Regions from separate parts of the Homo sapiens genome. Here regions 1, 2, 3, 4 and 6 are each linked to region 5. The links are contacts of gene promoters, found by promoter capture Hi-C in human tissues and cell types (Jung and others, 2019). All regions are on one chromosome and are shown on one strand. Each heading gives the region's core, a stretch centred on a gene start or on the middle of the fragment in contact. The rest is flanking DNA. Distances are from core to core; before and after follow the strand shown.

What was found. The method cuts DNA at HindIII sites, captures the fragments that hold promoters and counts their contacts. A contact is called where the count stands out against the background at its distance.
Region 1: a contact is called between the fragment with the promoter of TIMM44 here and the fragment with the promoter of CERS4 in region 5, in 1 of the 25 tissues and cell types used here (dorsolateral prefrontal cortex).
Region 2: a fragment that was not itself captured here is called in contact with the fragment with the promoter of CERS4 in region 5 in 1 of the 25 tissues and cell types used here (H1 embryonic stem cells).
Region 3: a contact is called between a fragment that was not itself captured here and the fragment with the promoter of CERS4 in region 5, in 2 of the 25 tissues and cell types used here (heart right ventricle and spleen).
Region 4: a fragment that was not itself captured here is called in contact with the fragment with the promoter of CERS4 in region 5 in 3 of the 25 tissues and cell types used here (H1 embryonic stem cells, mesenchymal stem cells and spleen).
Region 6: the fragment with the promoter of CTXN1 here is called in contact with the fragment with the promoter of CERS4 in region 5 in 2 of the 25 tissues and cell types used here (lymphoblastoid cells and thymus).

The regions. Positions count from the first base shown.
Region 1 is chr19:7,942,078-7,946,258 of GRCh38, forward strand. TIMM44 (translocase of inner mitochondrial membrane 44) reads right to left here and starts at 1,589. Exons shown (of 13, transcript NM_006351.4): 1 at 1,530-1,589. The coding sequence starts at 1,574. RefSeq lists enhancers at 610-1,153, 1,154-1,696, 1,323-1,692, 1,697-2,240, 2,241-2,783 and a silencer at 1,723-1,792. The HindIII fragment of the contact is 7,251 bases long and covers 585-4,181 here.
Region 2 is chr19:7,812,514-7,816,932 of GRCh38, forward strand. The region is part of intron 1 of LOC124904628 (a long non-coding RNA gene); the gene reads left to right. It also overlaps the pseudogene EXOSC3P2. Among named protein-coding and RNA genes, the nearest start is that of EVI5L, 15 kb to the right of the region's middle. RefSeq lists an enhancer at 3,102-3,151. The HindIII fragment of the contact is 3,832 bases long and covers 173-4,004 here.
Region 3 is chr19:8,477,173-8,481,351 of GRCh38, forward strand. All of the region lies in intron 12 of HNRNPM (heterogeneous nuclear ribonucleoprotein M), which reads left to right. Among named protein-coding and RNA genes, the nearest start is that of PRAM1, 23 kb to the right of the region's middle. The HindIII fragment of the contact is 4,476 bases long and covers 1-4,179 here.
Region 4 is chr19:8,593,345-8,597,774 of GRCh38, forward strand. ADAMTS10 (ADAM metallopeptidase with thrombospondin type 1 motif 10) reads right to left here. Exons shown (of 26, transcript NM_030957.4): 7 at 3,890-3,973; 8 at 3,643-3,788; 9 at 3,198-3,241; 10 at 2,963-3,068; 11 at 2,729-2,875; 12 at 2,418-2,559. Among named protein-coding and RNA genes, the nearest start is that of ADAMTS10, 15 kb to the right of the region's middle. The HindIII fragment of the contact is 8,071 bases long and covers 1-4,430 here.
Region 5 is chr19:8,206,657-8,211,041 of GRCh38, forward strand. It overlaps CERS4 (ceramide synthase 4), which reads left to right and starts at 2,714. Exons shown (of 12, transcript NM_024552.3): 1 at 2,714-2,838; 2 at 4,050-4,206. RefSeq lists a silencer at 2,395-3,314. The HindIII fragment of the contact is 7,028 bases long and covers 1-4,385 here.
Region 6 is chr19:7,922,954-7,927,480 of GRCh38, forward strand. It overlaps CTXN1 (cortexin 1), which reads right to left and starts at 3,182. Exons shown (of 2, transcript NM_206833.4): 1 at 3,014-3,182; 2 at 1,538-2,605. The coding sequence starts at 2,585. The coding sequence ends at 2,337. TIMM44 (translocase of inner mitochondrial membrane 44) reads right to left here. Exons shown (of 13, transcript NM_006351.4): 13 at 3,765-4,353. The coding sequence ends at 4,234. It overlaps LOC124904629 (a long non-coding RNA gene), which reads left to right and starts at 2,452. Exons shown (of 2, transcript XR_007067120.1): 1 at 2,452-2,883; 2 at 3,620-3,857. It overlaps SNAPC2 (small nuclear RNA activating complex polypeptide 2), which reads left to right. Exons shown (of 5, transcript NM_003083.4): 5 at 1-297. RefSeq lists silencers at 2,477-2,566, 3,097-3,366 and an enhancer at 3,863-4,527. The HindIII fragment of the contact is 9,564 bases long and covers 1-4,527 here.

The sequences.
Region 1 (4,181 bases), core at 339-2,838, 270 kb before region 5:
GTGGCTCACGCCAGTAATCCCAACACGTTGGGAGGCTGAGGTGGGAGGATCACCCGGTCAGGAGTTCGAGATCAGCCTGGCCAACATGGTGAAATCCCGTCTCTACCAAAAATACAAAAATTAGCCGGGCGTGGTGGCACACACCTGTAGTCCCACACACCTGTAGTATTGCTTAAACCCGGGAGGTGGAGGGTGCAGTGAGCCGAGATCTTGCCTTAAGTTCTGTGCAGGCACTGAGCTGGTGGCTCATGCCTGTAATCCCGATACTTTGGGAGGCTGAGGCGGAAGGATCGTTTGAGCTCAGGAGTTTGAGACCAGCCTGGGCAACATAGCTAGACCCTGCCTCCATAAAAAATTGGGGGAAAAAAAAAAAGCTCTGTGCAGGTCCTGTTCAGCTCGGCACCCTGTCACCCAGCACAGAACCTGGCGTGTTGATGTCAAAAGACCAGGTACAACTTCTCCACCATTTCCACATTTCCTGGGCCGTTTTTCTCTCTGTTCTCTGCCTCCTACCTCTGAGAACCCTATGCAACATCCCAAACTTACACAGGTGCCTACTATCTCCTGTATTTACTTGAGGATAACTTTTTTTTTTTTTTTTGAGACGGAGTCTCCCTCTGTTGCCCAGGCTGGAGTAAAGTGGCAGGATCTCGGCTCACTGCAATCTCCGCCTGCCGGGTTCAAGTGATTCTCCTGCCTCAGCCTCCCAAGTAGTTGGGATTACAGGAGCGCGCCACCATGCCCGGCTAATTTTTTTGTATTTTTAGTACAGATGGGGTTTTAGTAGAGATGGGATTTCACCATGTGGGCCAGTGGATCTCGAACTCCTGACCTCAGGTGATCCACCTGAGGCTGAGGCAGGAGAATCGCTTGAACCCGGAGGCAGAAGGAGGCAGAAGTTGCAGTGAGCCGAGATCGCGCCATTGCACTCCAGACTGGGCGACAAGAGCGAAACTCTGTCTCAAAAAAAAAAAAAAAAGAGAAAAAAGAAAAAACGAAGAGCACGAGCAATATGAAGTACTACTTTCTGAGTGCGCCTTACACGTCTTGACTGCCACTGCCCTGTGGACCCAAGAGCCTGCTAGGGCGCGAACCACCTCTCGCACATCCACAATGAACGTTAGAAGAAACGAGACAAGAAATGCTCTCGGTAGAGAACTTGGCATTTAACCGCGAGCTGTGAATTTCACGTTTTTTTGCCTTCCCCTCTACTTTTTTCCACGGGACGCCGCCGCCCCGGCTACCATTCTCTCTCCTGTATACGTGGAGTCTGATCAGAGGGCGAAGGGTGATCAGCTCCCTCCCAGGTCCCGCGCATCGCCGCCCCCTGCCCGGTAAGCTCGGTCCCCGCCCTCAGGCCACGCTCTGTGCCCCCTGTCCTGGCCTCTGCTACCCAAAGATCTAACCCCAAGCTTTCTAAGGAGCCCAAGCAAGGGTCGCGAAGGCCAAGGGTCTGAGAAGAAAGCCTTGGTGGCCGAAGGCCCAGAAGACCCCTAAGCTCGCCCTGCCAGCGCCGCACCGCCGCTCACCCGTGGACAGCGGCACCAGCCACTCCGCAGGGCCGCCGCCGCCATGTTGGAGAATCGTGTGACCTTCTCGCGGCGCGGCCCGGTTGCGTCATCCGCCGCTTCGGCCTAGAGCCGCGCAAGCCTGAGAAAAGCCGCTCCAGGAGCGGGGTTTCGGGTAGGGAGAGCCCTCCGATTGGGTCCGTCATAGGGCGGGGCATTAAAAGGGTAGGGAATGCCTAGAGAGCTTGACCTCTGATAGGGCAGTGTTTTGGAAGGACGGGGCCCGTGACTGGATGTGGCCCGGGGGAGGGCACTCCTGGGAGGGTCAGATCTGTGATTGGGCGCGACTACGAGGGGGCGGAGCCCAGGGGCGTGTATTCCGTCACTTGCGGTGATTCGGCTACAGAACGCGCCGGGCGCTGGTGGCAGGTGGTACAGGCACGTGGATCCACCGACCACAAGGACGGATTCGATTGGATTCTGATTGACCGGCGGACCAGCTCCAGAGTAATTGTCTATGGCTGCCCCTGCAATGACTGATTGATTGACAATGGCTGAGAGACCAGCAAGTGAGTCGCTCCGAGAAAGCGAAGGAGCCCACTCTTGTGCGGCGCTTTGGGAAGACGCCTGTTGGTTTTGACCCCGAATAAGAAGAGGAAGCTGAGAGCGGGCTGACTGTGGTCCAGTCCTACTTCGATTCAGTGTGAACTGACACTCTGATCTGAAGACGCTCAGGCCTTTGTCATTTCAGCACCCCAGATGCTATTTTCCATTCGAAGAATGCCGCCACCAGGTGGCGGTATTTTAACATGGCCATGCAATCCGGGTATGAGGAGGAGGGTTGGTCCCCTGGGAGAGCTAATGTATGTTGCTGTTGCTGTTTGTCTTATTGGATCCTTTTTTTTTTTTATAGAGCCAGAGGCTTGCTCTGTCACCCAGGCTAGAGTGCAGTGTCGTAATCTAGCTCACTGCAGCCTCCAATTCCCAAGCTCAAGCGATCCTCCTGCCTCAGCCTCTGAGTCACTGGGATTACAGGCGTGAGCTACCGCACCCGGTCTTTTTGCATTACTAACCTGTGATATGGGTTTATGGGACTTCATTATTTCAAAGGGAGGCAGCTTGGCCCCGGAGAGCATGCATTCCTGGCTTCTGCGATGGATAGACTTGTGTTCTCCATCTCAGGAGCTCCCCCTCAAGGTGGGGGTAAGAGATGAGGGCTTCCACTCTGGCTTTGTTCGAGATGTCTTGATGCCAAGAGGAGCAAACTAGTTAAGCGGTTGGTGTACACAGGTGTGTTGCTAAGAATAAGGTCTGGGCTAGAAATATGGATTCTTAGTTGTGGTTGAAAGTACGGAGTTTGGCCGGGCGCGGTGGCTCATGCCTATAATCCCAGCACTTTGGGACACTGAGGCGGGAGGATCTCTCCAGCCCAAGAGTTTGAGACCAGCCTGGGCAACATAGTGAAGACCTCTTCTTTACAACAAATACAAAACATTAGCTTGGCGTGGTAGCATGTGCTTGTAGTCCCAGCTACTCAGGAGGCTGAGATGGGAGGATCGTTGAGGCCCGGGAAGTTAAGGCTGTAGTGAGCCGTGATCGTGCCACTACACTACACTACACTACACTACACTACCTGGGCAACAGAGAGAGACCTTGTGTCAAAAAAAAAGAAGAAGAAAGAAAGAGAGAGAGAGAAAGGAAAGAAAGAAAACTACAGCATTGGACACTCAGAGGCAGTGTGTCATATAAGCATGTCAAAGACCCAAAGATAAAGTGGAGATAGAAGACTCCTTTAAGCCAGGATCCGTGGCTCAGTCCTATTATCCCAGCAACTCAGGAGCCTGAGGCAGGAGCATCATTTGAGCCCAGGAGTTACAGACCAGTCTGGGCAACATAACGAGACCCTATCTCTACAAAAATAAAAAAATAAGCCAAGCATGGTGTCTCTCGCCTGGAATTCCAGCTACTTAGGAGGCTGAGGTGGGAGGATCTCTTGAGCCCATTAGTTAGAGGCTGCAGTGAGCTATGATCACCCACTGCACTCCACCCTGGGTGACAGCATGAGACCTCCATCTCTTTTTTTGTTGTTTTGAGACAGAGTCTCACTCTGTCGCCCAGGCTGGAGTGCAGTGGCACGATCTTGGCTCACTGCAAGCTCCGCCTCCCAGGTTCACACCATTCTCCTGCCTTAGCCTCCCGAGTAGCTGGGACTACATGTGCCTGCCACCACACCCAGCTAATTTTTTGTATTTTTAGTAGAGACAGGGTTTCACCATGTTAGCCAGGATGGACTCGATTTCCTGACCTCGTGATCCGCTTGCCTCGGCCTCCCAAAGTGCTGGGATTACAGGCGTGAGCCACCACACCCGGCCTTTTTTTTTTTGAGATGGAGTTTTACTCTTGTTGCGCAGGCTGGAGTGCAATGGCGCGATCTTGGCTCACCGCAGCCTCTGCTTCCCAGGTTCAAGTGATTCTCCTGCCTCAGCCTCCCAAGTAGCTGGGATTACAGGCATGTGCCACCACACCCAGCTAATTTTGTGTTCTTAGTAGAGACGGGGTTTCTCCATATTGGTCAGGCTGGTCTCGAACTCCTGAACCTCAGGTGATCCTCCCACCTCAGCCTCCCAAAATGCTGGGATTACAGGCATGAGCCACCATGCCCCCTCGAGACCT
Region 2 (4,419 bases), core at 839-3,338, 390 kb before region 5:
TTATGTAGAGCATGTAGAACAATGTCTGATAAATCTTTTTTCGAGATGGAGTCTCACTCACTCTATCACCCAGGCTGTTTGCTCACTGCAACCTCTGACTCCTGGGTTCAAGCAATTCTCCTGCCTCAGCCTCCCCAGTAGCTGAGATTACAGGCATGCATCACCATGCCCAGATAGTTTTTGTATTTTTTATTTTTTTAATGTTTTAGCAAACTTTGTTGTACAGAACAAAAAAAAATACATCATGATTCTGCATGATTTTCTCTCCCACAAAAGCATGGGTGAAAACCAGTAACTTACTTATAAAAATATTTTATTTAGGACTCTAATAAGATAATATGTACATTCATACCTTGTCTCCTGAGTATTTAAATGGGGAAAGGTTCACCTGAAAAAAGTTTTCCCCAGGAAACCCATAGTTTCTTGGCTCAACTGACCCATTAAAAAAGTCCACCTAGAGCCAGGTGCGGTGGCTCACACCTGTAATCCCAGCACTTTGGGAGGCCAAGGCGGGCAGATCACGAGGTCAAGAGATTAAGACCATCCTGGCCAACATGGTGAAACCCCGTCTCTACTAAAAATACAAAAATTAGCTGGGCGTGGTGGCATAAACCTGTAGCCCCAGCTAATCAGGAGGCTGAGGCAGAAGAATCGCTTGAACCCAGGAAGTGGAGATTGTAGTGAGCCAAAATCATGCCACTGCACTCCAGCCTGGTGGCAGAGCAAGACTGTCTCAAAAAAAAAAAAAAAAAAAAAAAAAAAAAAAGTCCACCTAGGCGGGGCTCAGTGGCTCATGCCTGTAATCCCAACACTTTGGAAGGCCAAGGCAGGTGGATCACCTGAGGTCAGGAGTTCAAGACCAGCCTGGCCAACATGGTGAAACCCCATTTCTACTAAAAATGCAACATTTAGCCAGGCATGGTGGCACACACCTGTAATCCCAGCTACTCAGGAGGCAGAGACAGGAGAATTGCTTGAACCCGGAGGCAGAGGTTGCAGTGAGCCGAGATCAAACCATTGCACTTCAGCCTGGGCGACAAGAGCAAAACTCTGTCTCAAAAAAAAAAAAAAAAAAAAAAAAAAAAATCCACCTGTATCAACTTTCTGCCAGTCTGGAGAAGATTTGTTTTCTTTGATCTGACATCATGTGTTCACAAGCTTCCAAAATGTTTGCCAAAATTAAAGTTTGATGGATGGTTTTTGTTTTGACCCATATTCTTCCATTCATTCCAAATACTATCTCCAGGGAATAAAGTTTTCCCACTTCCTGTATGATTCCACAACCTGGAGTTAATAGCTTTCTAACTAAGCCCAAAGTCACTTTAAAAAGCAGACCATCAGGGCCAGGCACGGTGGCTCACGCCTGTAATCCCAGCACTTTGGGAGGCAGAGGCACGCAGATCATCTGAGGTCGGGAGTTCGAGACCAGCCTGACCAACATGGAGAAACCCCGTCTCTACTAAAAATACAAAATTAGCTGGGTGCAGTGGCGCATGCCTGTAATCCCAGTTACTCAGGAGGCTGAGGCAAGATAATTGCTTGAATCTGGGAGGCGGAGGTTGCGGTGAGCCAAGATCACACCATTGCACTCCAGCCTGGGCAACAAGAGCAAAACTTCATCTCAAAAAAAAAAAAAAAAAAAAGCAGACCATCCTGTCCAATGACACCCATTCCATTGGCTCGTCCTCAGCTGTCAATACACACCATCTCTAGTTCCATGTCTTTATTAGCAACCACAAAGTGGCCATAGATGAGATCTCCAACCTACACATATGGTCTGTTTCTTTTAGTTGCACCTTCAAACGCCAAGTAAAACAAAGAAGCTGGCTCACTCCCTCCAACATCAGCTCTGAATGTATCTCCAGATTTAGCTGTCACTATGCCAATCACATGGTCTCCTTTCACTCGAACATACTCATTCCCGGGGCTGCAGCACTTCCAACCCGGCGGTGTCTCAGCTTTCCCAGTCCTCGTTCTTGTGTTTTTTAGTAGAGACAGGGTTTCACCATTTTGGCCAGTCTGGTCTCGAACTCCTGACTTCAAGTGGTCTGCCCACCTCAGCCTCCCAAAGTGCTGGGATTACAGGCATGAGCCACCGGGCCCAGCGTGATAAATCTTAAGTGCTGTAATTACTGAGTATCCATCATTCAAATAGGCAATTTATACCTATTACTAGTGCACTGTATTAAAACTCATAGTAACATGGCCAGGCATGGTGGCTCACACCTGTAATCCCAGCACTGTGGGAGGCCAAAACAGGTGGACCCACCTGAGGTCAGGAGTTCAAGGCCATCCTGGTCAACATGGTGAGACCCCGTCTCTACTAAAAATACAAGAATTAGCCAGGCATAGTGGTGCGTGCCTTTAATCCCAGCTACTCTGGAGGCTGAGGCAGGAGAATCACTTGAACCCGAGAGGCAGATGTTGCCGTGAGCTGAGATCACACCACTGCACTCCAGCCTGGGAGACAGAGCGAGACTCCATCTCAATAAATAAACAAATAATAAAAAATAAATAAAACTCACAATAACAGTGTGAGGCAGTGTAGTTGTCTCATTTCACAGCTGAGGAAACTGAGACTCCCAAAAAGTGAGGCTCAAGGTGTCAGCGTTGTATATGGGTTCAGATAGAGTCTTTTGGCACTGGAATTTACTGGATAGTTTCTGCCTGCCCTCTAAATGACTCTCCTCTGTGTCAGGTGCTTCATCTCTCACCCCACTTTTCAGGAAGGGTGTGTCTCCATCCTGTTCCTTATTCTTCTTCCTGGCTTGGAGAGATGTGATTCTGAGGGGCTGCAATGCATGGGGTTATAAAAACCCACAGTCCAGAGAGGGGATGGAGAGAGAAGGGAGTAGAGAGGAGAAGATGGAGGAAGTGTGCGAGCCCAAGGGGCCAGGCAACCCTGGTGAGGCTGCCCCACCCCTTCCGTGGGATGTTGGTAGTGAAACAGAAAAGGTTCCCTTGTCCCCCTTGCAGGGCGTGTGACGGGGGGTGTGGCTCACATCTTCTGTGCCCCGCTGCTCAAACCTCCAGGGGAAGCATGCAGACAGGCAGGTTGTGGGGCTCCAACCCCATGGCAGCGTCTAGGGGTGAATGCTTTACAGCTCATGAGGGCCCCGTGGGAATGTGTTACAGCGTGCTCTTTCAGTTTTGCCGTCCGCAATTGGCTGATGTTCATCAGCTCAGTTAGATGCTCTGCCTTATTGCAAGGACAGACGACTTTCTCTCTCCCAGGGTTCTTGCCTTAGTGAACTGGAAAAATTGGATCCCATGTGATCCAATTGGGTGATCCGATTGGAGGGTGGGTGAAAGTTTTTTTATGGAGTGGTGGTAGCCCTCAGTGAGGTGCTTTTCTGTTTCACTGTCAACATCCCACAGAAGGGGTGGGGCAGCCTCACCAGGGTTGCCTGGCCCCTTGGGCTCACACACTTCCTCCATCTTCTGAACCCATATACAACGCTGGGAGTGGTGGCTGTAGTCCCAGCTACTTGGGAGGCTGAGGTGGGAGGATCACTTGAGCCCAAGAGTTTGAGGCTGCAGTGAGCTATGATCACACCACTGCACTCCAGCCTGGGTGACAAAGTGAGACCTCGGTCTCTACAAAAGGAAAGAAATAAAAGAAAAAGGGCTGTCTAGCAAAGACATGGAATCAACCCATCAATGATAGACTGGATAAAGAAAATGTGGTACATATATACAATGGAGTACTATGCAGCCATAAAAAAGAACAAGATCATGTCCTTTGCAGGGACATGGATAAAGCTGGAGGCCATTATCCTTAGCAAACTGATGCAGGAACAGAAAACCAAATACCGCATGTTCTCACTTATAAGTGGGAGTTAAATGATGAGAACACATGGACACATAACGGGGAACAACACACACTGGGGCCTATTGCAGGGTGGAGAGTGAGGAGGGAGAGGATCAGGAAAAGTAACTAATAATCTGTACATGTCATATGTTCACCTGTATAACAAATCTGCACATCCCACACATATACCCCTGAACTTAAAGTTTAAAAAAAATCACATCATTACTCTTTAAAAAAAAAAAAAGAAAGAAAGAAAGAAAAAGAAAAAGGGTTGTCACTTCTGCCTTCATCTGCTCCCTCTAACCCTCTGATGGCTGCCCCACCTGCCACCACTTTCCTGAAATGACCAAGGAGAGTAACTACCGTTCCTTTGTGAAAGCCAACCAGACTTGTTTCTATCTTGTTTCCACTCATTAATGGGGTGGCCACTCCCTCCCTCCTCCTTGAAACTCCTCTCTCCCAAGACTTCCCTGATGGCCTCACCTCCTGGTTCTCCTCCTGTCTGCCTGACCGCTCCTTCTCCATCTCCTTCATGGGCTCCTCTTCTGCCTGCCCTCAAAATGTCCCTGTCATTTACAAGTCTTTACTATCCAAATTCACTCCTGCTA
Region 3 (4,179 bases), core at 895-3,394, 270 kb after region 5:
GGCCCTCTCAGCATGGGAGGGAGAGATTCTTCAAGGACCTCGCAGCATGAAAAGTGTGATCCCCATTTCAGCCTGCGTGAGATGGATGCACAAGGAAAGAAGTGGCCAGCAGTAGGAATCACGAAAGGCTTATCAAGCAAGTGACCACTGTGGTGGGCCTTTCCCGGCAGAAGCTAGGACCTTTGTTTTAAAAGACATTGTAAGGCTGGGTGTAGTGGCTCACACCTGTTATCCCAACACTTTGGGAGGCTGAGGCAGGAGGATCACTTGAGCTCAGGAGTTCAAGACCAGCCAGGGCAACATAGTGAGACCTCCTCTCTACAAAAAATAAAATTAGCCGGGCATGATGCCGTACACCTGTGCTAGCTGCCTGGGAAACTCAGGTGGGAGGATGACTTGAGCCCAGGAGGTCGAGGCTGCAGTGAAGCATGATCACGCCACTGCATTCCAGCTTGGGAGCTTGGGTTGACAGAGTGAAACCCTGTCTCAAAAAAAAAAAAAAAAAAAAAAAAAAAAAAAAAGAACCTTACAAAATATGAGAAAGTTGTGACCCAAACCCCGTTATGTAGATGCAGCCACTGCAGTTGTCAGCAGAGAGGTCTTTCTGTGCAGACATACGTCTCGCCATGCACACGCATTTCTGTGTTAGGGCACAGGCTTCTGTATTAGAGGATGGGCTTCTGCACTGGATTTGAGTCCCAGCCTTTGCCTCACCTCTCACCAGCATGTGACCTTGGTCAAGTTACTAAATTGTGTGAGCCTCAATTTCTTTTTAAAGTGGTAGTGGTGGTGGAGGGTAACAGGCGTGCGTGGCATGGTTGTGAAGAGTTGATGGAATTATACACAAAGCCTTTGGGGTAGGGCATGTGTTGAGTGCCTAGTAGGTGTTACCTTCTGCAGCCTACGTTTGATTTAGCTGCACTGCAGGGGACCTCTTGGTTACTGTGGTAGCGAATGCTTGGTGTACCCAGTATTGTGGTTTGTGTGGCTGTAATGGAAGTTGTTCATTGGTCCTTGATGGACTTATGTTAGGTAGGTTGTTCAGGGATTCAGTTGCAGTGACTTTGTTTTTTAGGGAATGAAGAATGAATAATGGTTTCCTGCAGAAGAGTTAAACATGCTGACTTGGTGGTGGCTGTCGTGTGTATACATTTTGTTTTGTTTTTGATGTCTCAGACACAGTGGTATTCCTGGAAAGGCCTAGGGTGATTTTTCCACAGAGATGGAGCGTGGCATGGGTGGAGGACTTGAAAGAGACTTTGCCAGGAAGGAGATGGGGATATCTCGAAGCTTTGGAGAGCCTCTTGGCAGAGGAATGAGTAAGAAGGCCCAGTGGGCCTCAGTGGCTGGGGTCCGCCCTCTGGGGTGCAGGCTGCCAGGGTTTACCTGATGTCCCTGCTCTCTTAGAGTCAGCTGGTTTTTTTTAAGCTTTTAAAAAAGATGTTGTTTTAGACCTAGGTAAAAAATTTAGGTCTTTTAGTGTTTTATTGCTATATCAGTAGCATTATTTGTCTTTAAGTCTTTTCAGATGGCTTTTTAAAAAATTGGCATAAGGTTGTGCAGGCTGTGGGAATGGAAACTGCTGCGTGTACTTGACTTTCTGGCCCCCTAGGCCTGGAGAGTGTTTCATGGCCCTCTGGCTCCCTAGGCCTGGAGCGTGTTTCAAAGCCCTGCTAATTGGGGCAGGAGTTTCCTTACCCCAGGGTGCTGTGGTGTCCAGTCCAGTTAGCAGGATGGAGTGAGTTGTGCACTTGCTGATGCCTTTGACAGAGGCATCTAGACCGACTAGAGAGGTTTTCTAAAGTTGGAAGGTCTTGAGTATTTAGGCCTATCCGTATGCAGAGAAATTATTTTTTCAGTTTTGGTTAGGTGGCAGAGCAATTTCCTCCTCTTTTTTCTTTCTTTCTTTTTTTTTTTTTTTTTTTTTTTTCAAGACAGAGTCTCGCTTTGTTGCCCAGGCTGGAGTGCAATGGTGCGATCTCAGCTCACTGCGGCCTCCACCTCCCGGTTTCAAGTGGTTCTCCTGCTTCAGACTCTTGAGTAGCTGGCACTGCCGCCACCACACCCAGCTAATTTTCTTGTATTTTTAATGAGATAGGGTTTCACTGTGTTGGCCAGGCTGGTCTTGAGTCCTGACCTCAAGTGATCCACCTGCCTCTGCCTCCCAAAGTGCTAGGATTACAGGTGTGAGCCATCACGCCAGGTCTGTTGATGTCCATTTTATGTTAGCTGTATTCTTCAAATTTATGAAGGCCCTAGAAAGGTGGTCATTAGATTCATCCTTCAGCTCATCAGAGGGGCAAGATTCTTTTTTAATACAGTCTCTCCCTGTCATCTGGGCTGGAGTACAGTGGGTATGATCTCACTGTAGCAGGCTGAAGCAATCCTCCTACCTTTGCCTCTGAGTGGCTAGGAACACAGGCACATGCCACCATGCCCAGCTAATTTATTTTTTTGTAGAGACAGAGTGTATGTTGCCCAGGCTTATTACAAATTCCTGGGCTCAAGTGATCCTCCCGCCTTGGCCTCCCAAGGTGCTGGGGTTATAGGCAACAGCCACTATGCCTGGCCAGCGGTGTATTTAAAAAAAAAAAAAAAAATTTTTTTTTTTTTTTTTTTTGCGACAGAGTCTCGCTCTATTGCCCAGGCTGGAGTGCAGTGGCACAATCTTGGCTCACTGAAAGCTCTGCCCCTCCAGGTTTAAGCTGTTCTCTGCCTCAGCCTCCAGAGTAGCTGGGATTACAGGCGCGTGCCCCCATGTCCGGCTAATTTTTTGTATTTTTGTAGAGATGGGGTTTCACCATCTTGGCCAGGCTGGTCTTGAACTCGGGACCTCGTGATTCACACGCCTCGGCCTCCCAAAGTGCTGGGATTACAGGCATGAGCCACCGCACCCGGCCAAAGAAATATTTTAAAACTTACTGGCCGGGCGCGGTGGCTCATGCCTGTATTCCCAGCACTTTGGGAGGCCGAGGCTGGTGAATCACGAGGTTAGGAGTTCAAGACCAGCCTGGCCAATGTGGTGAAACCCCGTCTCTACTAAAAATACAAAAATTAGCCGGGCATGGTGGCGGGTGCCTGTAATCCCAGCTACTTGGGAGGCGGAGGTTGCAGTGAGCCGAGGTCAAACCACTGCACTCCAGCCTGGGTGACAGAGTGAGACTCCATCTCAAAAAAAAAAAAAAAAATTAAAACTTACTGTCATTTGCCTGCAAATACTAATTTGTGGATAGCTATGGCAAGAATAGATGGCATGTGGCTGGGCAGGTGGATTACAAGGTTAGGAGTTTGAGACCAGCCTGGCCAACATGGTGAAACCCCGTCTCTACTACAAACACAAAAAATTTAGCCGGGCGTGGTGGTGCATGCTGTAATCCCAGCTATTCAGGTGGCTGAGGCAGAATTGCTTGAACCTGGGAGGTAGAGGTTGCAGTGAGCCGAGATGACACCACTGCACTCTAGCCTGGGCGACAGAGTGAGACTCTGTCTCAAAATTAAAAAAAAAAAAAAGGCATCTTTACTTCTGTAGGAACTTTTTCTTGCTAAGAGCCTTCAGCTTCTTGCCACTCTGCAGCACCTCTCGCCTAATTCCGCTTTTTGGAGTGGCACATGAGTGGCACAGAGAGGTGGATGTGGGCTTCTTGCCTTTGAGGTCACTTCATGTGGCCACAGGAAACTGTTCCTGTCCTGACCGGCAGGGCGCCACCTCTCCCGCTGCGGTTACACCTTCTTTCTGATTGGGACTGTGCGATCTCTGTCCCGGAATTCCCTCCTGCCGCTGTGATCAGACCTACATGAGTAAGGTGATCTCGTCAGGTTCTCAGAGTGGTTGGGTTGGTTTTTCAAGATTCAATTCTTGACCTCTTTCCCGTGTCCTTTGCCATGAGAGGTGAACCATTGTGGTGCTCCTTTCCATAGTGCTTTCCTACTCGGTGCCCCTTCCTGTGCCTAGGCAGTAGATCTTTGCACTCCTTTGTGCAAACAGCTGTACTTGCTGCTTCAAAAATTTGGATAGGCCTGTGGTCTTTGGCCTTCAAGGATGAGGTGTAGCTGAGGCGATACTAAGGGTGGCTTGGGACATCGCCAGAGGTCTGTGCATCCAAGTGGCCTAGTGAGGACGCTGGTGGAGACGTTGGTTGCCAGATGCTGCTCAGGGCATTGGCTCTGCTAGGGGGCTCA
Region 4 (4,430 bases), core at 1,582-4,081, 390 kb after region 5:
AAGAGAAAGTGGTGGTTCTGAGAAATCGGCCTGGATGATGACTAGGCCAACGGCCTCATCTCTAGTTTTTTCCAGCTGTTGGTTCTCTTTGTTCCCCCATCTAAACTGGAGAAGCCCCCAACACTTTTAAGCTATGTGGAGGGGTGGGAGTTTGGGAGGGGACAATGCCGAGTTAGGTCTGTGTGGGACATGCCTCTCTTTCTCCAGGTGAAAAATCAGCCCCACCTTCTTCCCGTCTGAATCCTGGATGGGCTGAACTAGTCCCAGGGACTCACTCTGACTCTTAAAGTCCAGGTTAATATCCCTGGAGAAGCCCCAGTGAGTTCAGGTGAAGCAAAATCTCTGACCCTCTTGGCCCACATCCTAAGCAACCTCCCAGCGTCTTTCCTCTAAAAAGTAGGTGGTCCTCTCTGACCCTCTTGGCCCACATCCTAAGCAACCTCCCAGCGTCTTTCCTCTAAGAAGTAGGTGGTCCTTCTGTAATTATCAAGTGTAATCCCCGCTTTGAACCCAATTCTTGTAAGCTTTCCAGATGTGGGACTGGATCGATCAATGGCCACAGGAAAGGACCCTTCCTAGGTCAGCCCCTGAGAGATACCTGTACATATGTAAGAAGCTGGAAGAGTTGTTCTCAAATACATTCTCCCTCAAAGGTCCTCTAGAATCTCTGCCTTCTGCCTTATAGAGGACATTTCTCAGCTAAAAACTCAGACTGTGTCCTCTTGGCCATATCTAAAAATATCACATCAGTCCTGTCGCAATCCCACTTCTGACACCTCTTCAAGATAATGATTTCAGCTCTGCTTTTGTCCTCCTCTCCACAAGGAGGCACTGTGGCATATTTGAGTTGTGCAGAGACCTCAATTCTGCTACCAACTTGCAATATATTTCCCCTCTCTGGGCCTCAGTTTACTCATCTACAAGATGGGCAGCCTAATGCCTGTCTTGCCTATATAAATGGCTATGAGGCACGTGACAGGATAGATAAGAAAGGACTTGCACCAATGCCATTATGGGGTAACAATGACCACCACTATCTCTGGACCAGGCACCAGGCTGAACCCTTTACATATATTAACCAGTTCACATTTAGTAAATAAATCCCCCTTTGCCAAGATGGCCTGAAAGATGTTCCTTCAAAAACTAAAAGGAAGGCTCAATTCAACATATAGCCAGTGCCAGCCCAAGCTTGATATTTTGACAGCTCCTCCCCTCCCCTGCCCCTTTGTAAAATTTAGAGAGTCATGAGAGACCTGGATTTAAATCCCAGCTCTGTCATGGTCTCAAACTGTGGCCTTGGACAAGTCATCCTCCCTATGCTATGGCTCAGTCCCTTCCTCTGTAACGTGGGGGCTAGCAGGATTGTCAGGAGTTTAGATGGTGACACACAGCACATGCTTAGCCCATAGTGAGAGCTCAGTAAATGTCAGACACCATGATCATTGTTAGGATACCTGGGTCACAGCAGATGTTGAGGAGTAGCTTCAGAATTCTTTAGGAATTCCTTAGAGGGTGCTGCAGTTACCAGCTAAGTTAGGATGTTGGGGGGTGTCAAGGGTGGAATGTCAGTGAAATAGAAATTGTTCCAGGGTTTGTCTCTGTCTTGCAGTGGAATGAAGGGAGGGCAATTTGGCAGCTGCTTGCCCTCTGCTTTGCATTAACATGGCATCACAAAAACTCTGATCGTTTGAGTTGTGATAGTGTGAAGAACTGGGGCTGAACCTGGGCCCCTAGGGCTGAGACTGTGAGGAGCTTAGGGGTGCATTTAGGGAATCGAGGCAGGTGGGCAGAGGAGGAGCAGATCCTGGCTGAACCTTGGTGGCTGAAGCAGGAAGCCAGCAGGTCTTCAGCTTCCTGGGGGGAGCTGGGAGTGGAACCTCCTGCCCCCCAATGCCCTTCTCTATGCACGAATGGGGCTTTGGGAATCTAAACCTCAGGAAAGGGTGGGGAGAGGTCAGGAGGCTCAGAGCTCCTCCAGACAGGGAGTCCCTGGAAGGTTCTGTCTAGTTCTTTGCCAAGTAGGAAAGATGGCTCATCCCCAGGGAAATTATTTCCGTCAGGACTGGATGTTTAGTTAAAAACTGCCCCGTGAGAGGTCTTGAGACTTTGATCCTGCTGTAGCCCACAGGGGGTGTGATGTGCCAGACAGAAGCTGGCCCCCCAGCCCAGCCCTCAAATCAGGGGTCTGGAGAAGCAGGTGATCCCATTTTTGTTCCCAAGCACTGTCTGATTGCTTAGGACATTTTGCACACTCCATGCACCTCTGTCCTCCCAGGTCACCATGGGGGCTCACCTCACCCCCCTTCCCGGTTCTCCCACCCCCTCACTTCCCAGGTGGGTGCCCTGGTGGAGTTCCCTCCCCCAGCCCCAGCGGCCCCCTCCCCTCCCAGGAAGGAAAGCAGGAAGACTCTCTCTACCCCGTATTTACACTGACGCGATTTGACTCCATGCTGAAAGCGGCATTGCTCATCTGCATCGTAGGCTTGGCCCGGTGCCACTGTCGGGTACACAAAGTCCTGTCTGGGGGGCCGGTTGTTCAGGCAGAGCCCCAGGCCCGAGCTGCCTCGAGAGAAAAGCAACTGTCATGCTAGGTGGCTGCAAATCAAGAGCTCAGGAGCCTCAGCTGGATGGGGGTCCCAGGGAGCATCCCTGATTTCTATCGTCTCCCGTGTACCCTGCCCCACCATGAGTGTGACCCGCTCTGAGGGACACCCAGGTGCATCCTCACTCTAGAAAGCTGGTGATGTAGTCACGGCTGCAGGATGACCACACGAATGGGTTGGTCTTCATGGTAATGTGGGCAGCCATGAGCTTGGCTGGGTCCTGACCACGGGCCCCACAGCTGTTTCCCACGCCGTCATGGTTCATGCCGAATCTGGGGAAAGGGGTGTCGGCTCTGCCGGGCGCTGAGGGACCCGCCCAGCTCCTCCCCTCCTCCCCCTCTTGTGTGCCCTGGCCTCACGTGTGCCCGATCTCGTGGGCAATGGTGAACGCTGTGGCCAGGCCAATGTCCTCATTGACGCTGCAGCTTCTCTCGCGCTCACACATTCCGCCCACCGGGGCCAGGCCTGGGAAGACGGACATGTGGGGATGGGGCTGGGAGGCTCAGGACGGTGCTGGCTGGCCCCATCCACCTGCCAGGTCTCACCCCAGCCCACTGCCTTCATAGGCGCCTGAAACCTACGGGGCTCGGGTACCTAGTGTGCCGCAGGGTTTGTTCTTGTAGATGCAGATGTCATAGCTGTAAAAGGAGACAGGGTCAGTGAGGGGGCTGGGCTGTCTCCCTAAGCCCTGCTGATGCCACCATGCCCAGCTCTGGGGGTTGAGTCCTGCCTTGGAGGCGCCATCTGCCTCTCACCTGAAGCTGCATACAGGAGTGACTGACCACATGAATGAATGAATGCATGCATGCATGCATGAGTGGGAGAATAAGTGAATGAGGGCATCGGTGCCCAAATGGTCCCAAACCTCCCTTACCCATTATTCTCAAGCAGCCCCTCCCCATCCCTGGCTCCCTCATGGGCAGCCCAAACTTCTCTGCTCCTCCTGACCCTAGCAGAAGTGATCTCTGTTTGGACTCTCATGGTTCCCTGGACCATCTGTTTTCTCAGCCCCAGTCCTAGACCTCTCCTGTCCCCTCACCGTGTGATGAGCACTGCTGTGTCATGGTTAGCCACACCGTTCTCTGGAATGGCATTGCCATGGCCGCTGTGGTTCACGATGGATTTCTGCCACTTACAGAAGCTGTCCAGGGACTTCCCGGCATGGTGGGTGATCTCCAGAGTGGGCTGGGGATGGACAGAGGGAAATGCATGGGCACCCACCACCCAGGGGACGGCAGGACATGCTGGTATGAAGGGGAAGGGGAAGGGGAGGAAGTCCCCCGCACCTGGTCCTCCGTGAGCAGGATGAGGCGAGTTACGAGGATGTTAACGGTGCTTCCCAGACTCGAGTCCTGGAAAAGTTTGGCAACCTGACCTCCAAGAAACAAGAGAGACCGAGTCTTAAGAGGAGCCCAGGGTAGAAAATGAAAAGCAAAAACAATGATAACAGCTTGCTTTCATCAGGCACCTACTGTGTGTCGGGTCTTAGGCTAAACCTGCTATTAGGGTTTTTTGTTGCTGTTGTTGTTAAAGATGGGGGTCTTGGTATGTTGCTCAGGCTGGTCTTGAACTCCTGACCTCAAGTGATCCTCCTGCCTGGCCTCCCATAGGGCTGGGATTACAGGTGTGAGCCACCATGCCCAGCCATGTATCAGTCTTTTCATGAATAGGTAATATTTGCTGTTGTTACTATTTGTTGTTGTTGTTTTTTGAGATGGAGTCTCGCTCTGTTGCCCAGGCTGCAGTGCTGCGGTGCAATCTCAGCTCACTGTAACCTCCACTTCCCAGGTTCAAATGATTCTACTGCTTCAGCCTCCCAAGTAGCTG
Region 5 (4,385 bases), core at 1,464-3,963:
CATGCTCTGAGCACCCTGGAGTATGCGACATGTGATATTCAATAACTCCCTAGTCACAACAACTGAGAAGAGTTGCTTTATTATCTTTCTTTTCCAGGTGTGCAAACAAGCTCTTGGAGGGAAGGAGAGGAGAAAATAAACAGGTGAATATGGTGGGGGTGGGGTAAAGCAGGCAATGGAGGAAGGAGGAGGGGACTGAGGCTCAGGGAGAAGTATGTATGCATTTGAAAAGGGAAAGAGGCTGGGGCACAGTGGCTCTTGCCTGTAATCCCAGCACCTTGGAAAGCGGAGGCGGAAGGATCACTTGAGCCTAAGCGTTCCAGACCAGCCTGGGCAACATAGCAAGACCCCACCTCTACCAAAGTTTTTTTTTTTGTTTTTTTTAATTGAGACAGAGTCTTGCTCTGTCACCCAGGCTGGAGTGCAGCGGCACGATTTTGACTCACTGCAACCTCCGCCTCCTGGGTTCAAGTGATTCTCCTGCCTCAGACTCTCGAGTAGCTGGGATTACAGGTGCGCAACACCATGCCCAGCTAACTTTGGTATTTTTAGTAGAGAAGGGGTTTCGCCATATTGGCCAGGCTGGTCTCGAACTCCTGACCTCACGTGATCCACCTGCCTCGGCCTCCCAAAGTGCTGGGATTACAGGCATGAGCCACCACACCCTGCCTACCAAAGTTTTTTTATTTAAAACAAAAAAAAATTAGCCGGGCATGGTGGCAGGCATCTATAGTCCTAGCTCCTCTGGAGGCTGAGGTGAGAGGACTGCTTGAGCCCTGGAGTCCCAGGCTGCAATGAGCTGGGATCATGACATTCCATTCTAGCCTGGGCAACAGAGTGAGACTCCCATCTTTAACGAAATTTTTTTTGATAGAGTCTCACTCTGTTGTCCAGGCTGGAGTGCAGTGGCACGATCTCCACGCACTGCAACCTCTGCCTCCTGGGTTCACGTAATTCTACTCCAGGCTAATTTTTGTGTTTTTAGTAGAGATGGGATTTTGCCACGTTGGCCAGGCTGGTCTCAAACTCCTGACCTCAGGTGATCCACCCGCCTCAGCCTCCCAAAGTGCTGGGATTACAGGTGTGAGCCACCGCACCCAGCCTCTAACAGATTTTTTTAAAAAAAGAAAAGAGAAGGTCGGGCATGCTGGCTCACGCCTGTAATCCCAGCACTTTGGGAAGCCAAGGCTGGTGGATCACGAGGTCAGGAGTTTGAGATCAGTCTGGCCAACATTGTGAAACCCCCGTCTCTCCAAAAAAAAAAATATATATATATATAAATTAGCCGGGTGTTGTGGGCGCCTGTAATCCTAGCTACTCGGGAGGCTGAGGCAGGAGAATCGAATGAAACCAGGATGCAGAAGTTGCAGTGAGCCGAGATCATGCCATTGCAGTCCAGCCCGGGCCACAATGCAAGACTCCGTCTCAAAAAAAAAAAAAGAAAAAGAAAAAAGAAAAGAGAAACAGTGTAGCAGAGGGAAGGCCAAGTGCAAACGCCAGGAGTCTGAACTTGGAGGGACAGGTTCTTCCACACTTGCAACAGAGGTCTCCTGCCTCCCTGACCGCCCCGCCCCCCGCGCCCCTGTCTGTGTGAGGAAATCAAATCTCAGCTTGCCTAGGGCCCTGTGGCAGGGAGGCCCCAACTTCACCCCATGGGTCTTGGGTCTGCTGAGCTGAGTCAGAGAAAGGTTTATTATCCCCATTTTACAGAGGCTTATTGTCCAAAGGCGAAGCCACTTGCCCAGAGTACATGCGGTGGGCCAGCGACTATGAAAACCCCTGGGGCTGTCCTCTGTTCAGGGATCGCCCAGGCTCCCTGCCCCTGCGCGCTGCTGAGACTGGGTCATTTTCGGTTCTACCAGGCAAGCGGGGGACCCAGCCCCCACTGCTGCTGCCCTCAGCCAAAACCAGGGCTGCGCCACCACCCACCCGGCCTATCTCCCATCTTATCTCCCCAGCTCTGTCGCCTGACCCCTGCACCCCACCAAATCGCAGCCTTTGCCCGGTGCCCTCACCGCCTCGGTTGGCCCCCGCGCGCGCCTCGGGCGAACCCCTGGACTGGCCCTCCAACAGGGCCCCAGACTCGGGGTACCCAGGGTGGCCGCTGAGGCCTGGAGAAATCTGGGCCTCCCCTGTGCACCATCCAACTGCGCGCCCCAGAGGCTCAGGGCGCCCCGGGAGTGTGGGGGTGTGGACAGATGAGCAGAGCCAGAGCATCTCGGGCAGAAGAGGGGACCTGGGAGGGGGCCGGGGAGACAGACAGCGAACAGGGGTGAAGCCGGGGCCGGACGGAGCGCGCAGCGGACAATACTGGGTTCAAAGGGGAGAGATAAGGCGCAGACTAGAAACGCTAGGCTGGACCCGGGCCAGGCGCGCCGCGGGGCAGAGATGGGCGGAGCGGGAACGGGGGCGGGGGCGAGAATGGGGGGGCGGGGACGGGGGCGGGGATGGGGTGCGGGTGCGGGGTCGGGGGCCAGGGAGAGGCCTAGTTGCGTCGAGGGGGGCAAGCGCCTGGAGGACCCGGCGCCCGCTCCAGGCCCTGCCCCTCCAAGTCCCCCGCCCCGCGCCAGGCCCCGCCTCTCCAGGGCCCCAGCCCCGCGCCAGGCCCCACCGTTCCGGGGCGCGTGCCCCGCCCAGGCCCCGCCCCCACGGCCCCGCCCCGGGCTCCCCCCACTCAAGCCTTTTTTCCCCTGCTGGGGGCCGAGGCCCGGCCAGGAGCAGAGTCCGGCTGCCTGGGGCGGGCGGCGCGTGTCTGCAGCTGCTCCGGGTAGCCCGCTAGGCGCGCCGTCCCCAGCCCCGCCGCCGGCCCTCGGTGCGCCCGGCCGCCTGCACCCCCAGGTAAGCGAGCACCCCGCGCCGCGAACACCGCCCCGAACGCCACCCTCACGGCGGTCCCCGGCCCCGCCTCCGCGGCCATGGCGGCCCCAGCCCGGCCCCCACTCGCAGCTGGGCTCCAGCCCCCATCACCCCGCCGGGGACTGTCCCCCTCGGGGCTTCCCATCATGGCCGTCTCCCCGAGCTATCCGCGCTCCCCCACGAGGGCCGGGGCGCAACGGGTGCCCGAGGACGCGGCTGTGAAACGGGCTGGAGCGAGTAGGGGCGATCCTGGCCTCGTGACGCGGGGGAATCCGGATGTGTGAGCCGGGGGAGCGCCCCGTTTCCCCGACGTGCCAGGGCTGGGGACGCAGCTGGGGCCCTGGCCTCGGAGTCCGCAGCCCGGCCGCGTAGACGGCTTCTGAGAACCGCTTAAACACGTCATTCCAAGCCCGAGCTAACCCATCAGGCGGCCGGGGTGAGGTGGAGGTGCCCAGGCGGGGATAATGTCATTTGGCCTGGTTGGACCAGCCAGCGAGGGCTTTTTAGGCCCAGGGCCTAGCCGGGAGTGTGTGCGGAGCAGAAAAGAGGCCAGCCTGGCTGAAACGCGGAGAGGGAGGGTCTGAGGTGGAGAGAGGTTGGCCGGGGCCTGGGAAGCGGCGAGGAGAGTGTGGAACCCGTTCTCGGGGCGGTGGGGACCAGGGAGGCTTGGAACAGCAGGTGCATGGCGTGATCGGATTGTGTCTTAAGAACATCCCGTAGCCGCTGTGGGTAGGAGAGATGGGGATACTTGGAAGGGGGCTTCTGGCTTGACCTGGCTGGAAGGTGTGATAGGAAGTGGGTGAACTGAAAATTCGCTTTGGCAGAGTAACATCGTCTAATTCTGTCTGTTTGCAAGTGGAGCGTGGGGGACCGATGTTTCTCCTGGGTAGTTAGGAGTATATAGAAGAGGCTTTCATTGCTGGGTTGGGAGACTTGAGGAGAAGCTGCTCTGGGGGACACAGGAAGGTGGGCAGGGGGAGAGGCTGTTGTGGTTTGCAAAACCTACCAGATGGGGGAATGCTCCCATCGACTCCAGTCTGAGCTCAGGCAAGGTCTCAGGCATCTGAGCGCAGAGGCCAGGGTGACCCCACTGGGGCGACCTGGGTCTGTTATATGGGGATAGGGTTCCTGGACTGTGGAATTGTCTTTGAAGCCCTCGGCCTCCCCCAGCCTCAAATGGGTCTGCCTTCCAGGAGCAGCTGCTGTGAATAAACACAGAAGTGGAGCTGGGGGACTGATTAGAAGCCTCATTCAGTGCACCTGGGCCCCAGCAGGCCCAGCCAGGCGTGGAGGAAGAGGCATTGAGGACTTTCCTTACCTGTTTTTCCAGCTCACCCACTGCCAGCAGAGGTACTTTGAGCCTGGGGTGTGGGGGGTGGGGGGCGGCCTTGGTCGTTGAACTGGCTGTAGGGCCCCCAGGGAAAGGTTTCTGAGCTTCAGTTTACCCATCTGTAAAATGGGTCAGTAGTATCTGAGCCTGGGAGTGTTCATGGATCGATGAAAGCCGAGGCTAGGCAGATCTCGGTGGC
Region 6 (4,527 bases), core at 1,932-4,431, 280 kb before region 5:
GTTGGGTGGGGGTTGCAGGACTCCACTCACAAGCCTCCTGATGTCAAGGACAGGCGGACAGGGCTGGCCTCCCCCAGTCCCCAAGCCCCACTGTGCCTTGTTGTCTGCTGGGGGGCCATAGCTGGCACTGCCCACCGTAAAGGCCCTCGCACATTTTCCCCCTTCCTGTACACCTCGGGGCCAGCATCCTCACCTTCTTCAACTGACCAGTCGTGGTTACTCCCTGCTGCCAGGTCCTTCCCCTTCCCGGGGGTATTCTGTGACCATGAATAAAGTTATCATTCTCTTTCTCTTTCACCTGTGACTTAAAGATGGAAGTGGGGGCCCTGAAGTGTCAGAGCTTGGGGGTCACAGGGCTGGGGGTGTGTGCCAGGGAGGAGAGCTGCCACCTGACTGGTGTGATGAGGCCTGGGGTGAGGAGCCCCTTGGTGACTGTGAAGCTGACAAGTGTGGATGGGGAGAGCCGGCAGGGCACCTTGGGGACAGGCGTCAGGGATGGGTTTCAGAGTAGGGCAAAATCACATCGCACAGGTGGAGGGGAGAAGGCAGCAGAGAGTGGGGGTGACCCGGTGGAAGGAGTTGAGCCCCAGGCTGGGCGGTTAGAGGAAGATAGATAGGGGTGGGCTGCCCCGAGTGGCAGGAGGCTAGTGGGAGTGGAGTGTCCCCTGGGGTGGCTTTGGGACCTCAAGGATCCCTAGAAGGCGGGGAGGGAGGGGTACTGGAGTCAGGGCTGACCCCAAACCCCTGGGGGTGCTGGGACCCCGCTTGAGGCCCCCTCCATCAGCTTCACCTGCCCTGTGGGTGTGGACCGAGGGTCGGGTCCTAGAGAGGGAAGCAGATGTCCTCCCACGGCACCGCGTCCCACGCCCAGCTAGTAATCCAAGTCGGTAAATTCTCCGTTCTCGGAGCCTGTGCATTCACCCAGCCTGCCTTTTATAGAAACGCTCATTCCTCCCCCCACACACTGCACACGGCTCCCCTGGGGTGCACATCTCTTGGGAGGGCCTTGGAGCACAGCCAGCCCACTCCGTCCGTGGTCACCGCCCCACCGCACCAGACCCACAAACGCTGCCAATGGTGGTGGGCAGGGGGAGGAGGCTTAGGCTGCAGGTACGGTCGGTCGTCGGAGCCTCCCTCCAGGGCTGGCAGAGGGTGCGCCTCCCAGTTCCCCACAGGGCTGAGTCTCTCTCACCACCCCCGGCGCCTCCCCAGATCAACAGAATTGTGTGTGGAGGGGAGGCAGCTGGGGGTTACACATCAGCCCCCCCCCCCAAAGCCGGTGAAAGGTGCTTGTGATCTTGGTGTCTTTGCAGCCCTGGGAAGCTTTAAAAACATGCAAAAGCCAGACCTGGGTTCCACTTCCAGCCCTACCAGACTCTAGCCATGTGACTGTGGGCAAGTCAGTCACTGGAGCTGCCTGGCCCTCGGTCTCCTGGCCTGTAGAATAGGGATGCTAACAGGGCCTGGCTCATTCTCACGATCCCGAAGAGGAGACAGGCTATAAACAGGAGGTGCCAACTCAGCACGCTACTTGGCATGCAGTAAGCGCTCAATAATAGCTTTTATTATCATGTTCGGCTCAGAGGCAGGGAGGAGTGGAACGGCATGGGAGGGCTGCGGGAGGCACGGCAGGGGGGTCAGGGGCAAGTGGCAGGAGGGCGGATGGGGGGCAGCGGTGGGCACCGGGGCAGGGCGCGCTGACCTGTCCTGGGGCCCGGGTTGGGGGCAGAAATGAGCCTGCCCACGCTGTCCCGCCACGGCAGGCGCCACGCATCCTCGACACAGCCGCCATGGCAGGCCTTCGGGCTCCGTCTCCGGGACAGGCGGTGCAGGGCAAATTGGTATGCAGCGTCCGCCCCGTGGGCCCGGGAGAGCCTGCCCCGCAGGGACCAGAGCCCAAGGACGGGCTCAACACTCAGTCAAGGTGGGGTTGACGACGGCCAGACAACAGGGGAGGGAGGAGGGACAAGGGGGTCCCCACTTCCAGGGACGCACAATAGCAGAGCCACTTACACGCTGGGGAGGGGGCGGTGCGGGGGTCCTCCTCCCGCCCGGGATTCAGAGTCGGGGGTGGGGGCCAGCCGGGCGGGTGAGATGCGCAGAGAGGAAGGGACAGGGCGGATAAAGGCACGAGGTGGGGCTCCGGCCAGGCCAGGAAGGGACATGGGAGGGGTCTCGAGGGGGAGGGGCTGGGCTTCTCCCAACTCCCTCCCCCTCTCCCCCGGGCTGGGGGCTCCGGGGCGGGATCCTGAGCGCAGTCCTGGCCCCGCGGCGCCCCCCGCCGGGCCGGCCCTCTGAGACCCCGGCGCAGGGCCGGCTAGGGGGCGCCGCGCCCCTCACACCAACGCGTAGTCGAACTGCCCGCGCTCGAGCGCCTCCTTGTGGTCGGTCCAGGACGAGGCGGGCATGCGGCTGTAGGGGTCGAGCAGGATGCGCACGCAGCGCACCATCAACAGCACCAGCACCACGAGCAGGCAGAGCACGAAGGCGAACACCGTGCGCTGCTCCGCGTCCAGGCCCGCGCCCACCGGGGGCCCCGTCGACGGCGGCAGGGGCTCCGGCGACAGCGTCCACGTCGCGCTCATGGCTCACATCGCCGCGCGCCCTGCGGAGGAGGGGACCCGCCCCGGGCGCCGGGGATGAGGCTGCGCCCTCCCTCCCGCGCCTCCTCCGCTTCGCCCCCTCCTGCCGCCGCCGCCGCCGCCTCCCTTAACGTGCCCGACCCCATCCCCCGCCCGCGCCTCGGTCCCCGGGCTACGCCCATGCCCGGCCCGCCGGATCGCCGCCACCACCACGCGGGGACCCAACTCTGGCCGTGCGCGCAGGTGGGGGCGCTGAGAGCCGGGAAACGGAGCCGCGCCCGGCCTGGGCCGCACACAACAGGTGCGAAAGCGCGGCCGCGGCCCGGGCGCGCGGCGTGGGGACGGTCCCCGCGGCCCCTGCCCCCGCTCCCTTTGTTCTCGGCGGCCTGGGACCCCCTCCCCCACCGCCCCCGCCCCGGCGCGCCCCTCACCCTGGCTTCGACCCGGACGGGGACCGACCGCCCGGCGGCCGCGCTCTCTCAGGGACCCGCGCCGGCTGCGCGTTCGGCCTCTCCCCGGCGGCGGCGGCGGCGGCCCGGGCTCCGGCTCAGCCCACCCCACCCGCCCCTGGAGCGGCGGAGACCGAGGCAGGCAAGCAGCGCGCGAGCCGGGCCGCCGCGGCTGTTCCTATGGCGACGGGGGCGGGGCCGCCGCGGGGGGCGGGGCTGCAGGGGGCGGAGGCTGCGCAGGGAGCGGCGCGCGAGCCAGCGACCCCGCCCGGGCCTGCGGGAGGACGGAACCCCAGCCCCGAGGACCCGCGAGCACCCACGACCTCGCCGGGGAGTGGGCAGCTGCCACTCCCACCTCCCCTGGCACTTCGGGCCCCCCAGCCTGCCCTGTGCCTGCATTCTCCTCCGCGATAGACCCCACTCGAGACTCCCTGTTTGTGGGGGGACCTCAGTGGCCCTAAAACACTCATATGGGCACTCAAGCTCCCCCGGCCCTGGGGACCTCAATTCTCAGAGAGCTCAGGCAGGTCACTGGGATGAGTAAGTCCCCCTAGTTTTGTCTGTCACTGGCCTCGTCTTCCAACTCAGGGTCCAGCCCTGGGCAAGGCGTCCACCCACTGCGGCTGCAGTTCCTCACTCGACCTTGACCGCCTCCCACAGCAGCCGCCTGCTCCCACCCCCACCATCGCCTCGGCCACTCCCGCGCCAGAGAAGACACTTCAGACTCCGTAGCTGCTCTTCTGCAATTCGGTGTTTTATTCTTTCCAAATCTCAGGCTTATGCACAAGATGGAAGAGCACTGTTAAAATTAAAAAATGGACCTAAAGTGGCTTGGCTGACGTGGCTAGCGGGCCACTGAGCCGCGGGTCCCGGGTCCCACCCTGCTGTGGGGGGAGTCCCTGGGCCCTGGGGCCTCTTGGCACTGTGTGACCTGTGTGCACCCCAGGTGACCAGGCGCCGGGACCCCTGCAGGGCAGAGCAACAGGGCAGGGGTTGGCCCTGCGGGGGAGTGTCTCCAGCTGCCGCGCACCCGCAACAGCCCGTTGTCCCCTCCCGGGCCAGCTGGTCTTGCAGCCGTCCTGGCAGAGCTGGGGGCAGAGCCCGCAGTCTTGTTCCCAGAGGTCTGGAGTTGCCGCAGGTGGTGTTGCGGTGCCTCTGTGCCTGATGACCCAGGCCGGGGCTACCTGGCTCCGGCACCACACTCAGAGAATCTGCTCGGTGCTGGAGGCCGAGATGTCCAGGAGCCGCCAGGCCGCGTAGGGGTTGAGCTCGTCCTGGTCTCGGCAGAGCGCCCACACGTACAGCATCCGCAGCACCTTGTCCTGCAGGGTGGGGTGGGAAGGGCACTGTTGAGAGGGTTGAGGTGACCCAGGCAGCTCTGGGGGGGGGCCAGGCTCTGTGGGGCAGGAGCCACCGGCAACTTCCCCAGGGGCTGGGAGCAGAGGCCAGCACAATTGCCTAGACTCAGGAACCACTCAGCCTTGGTAAAAACAGAC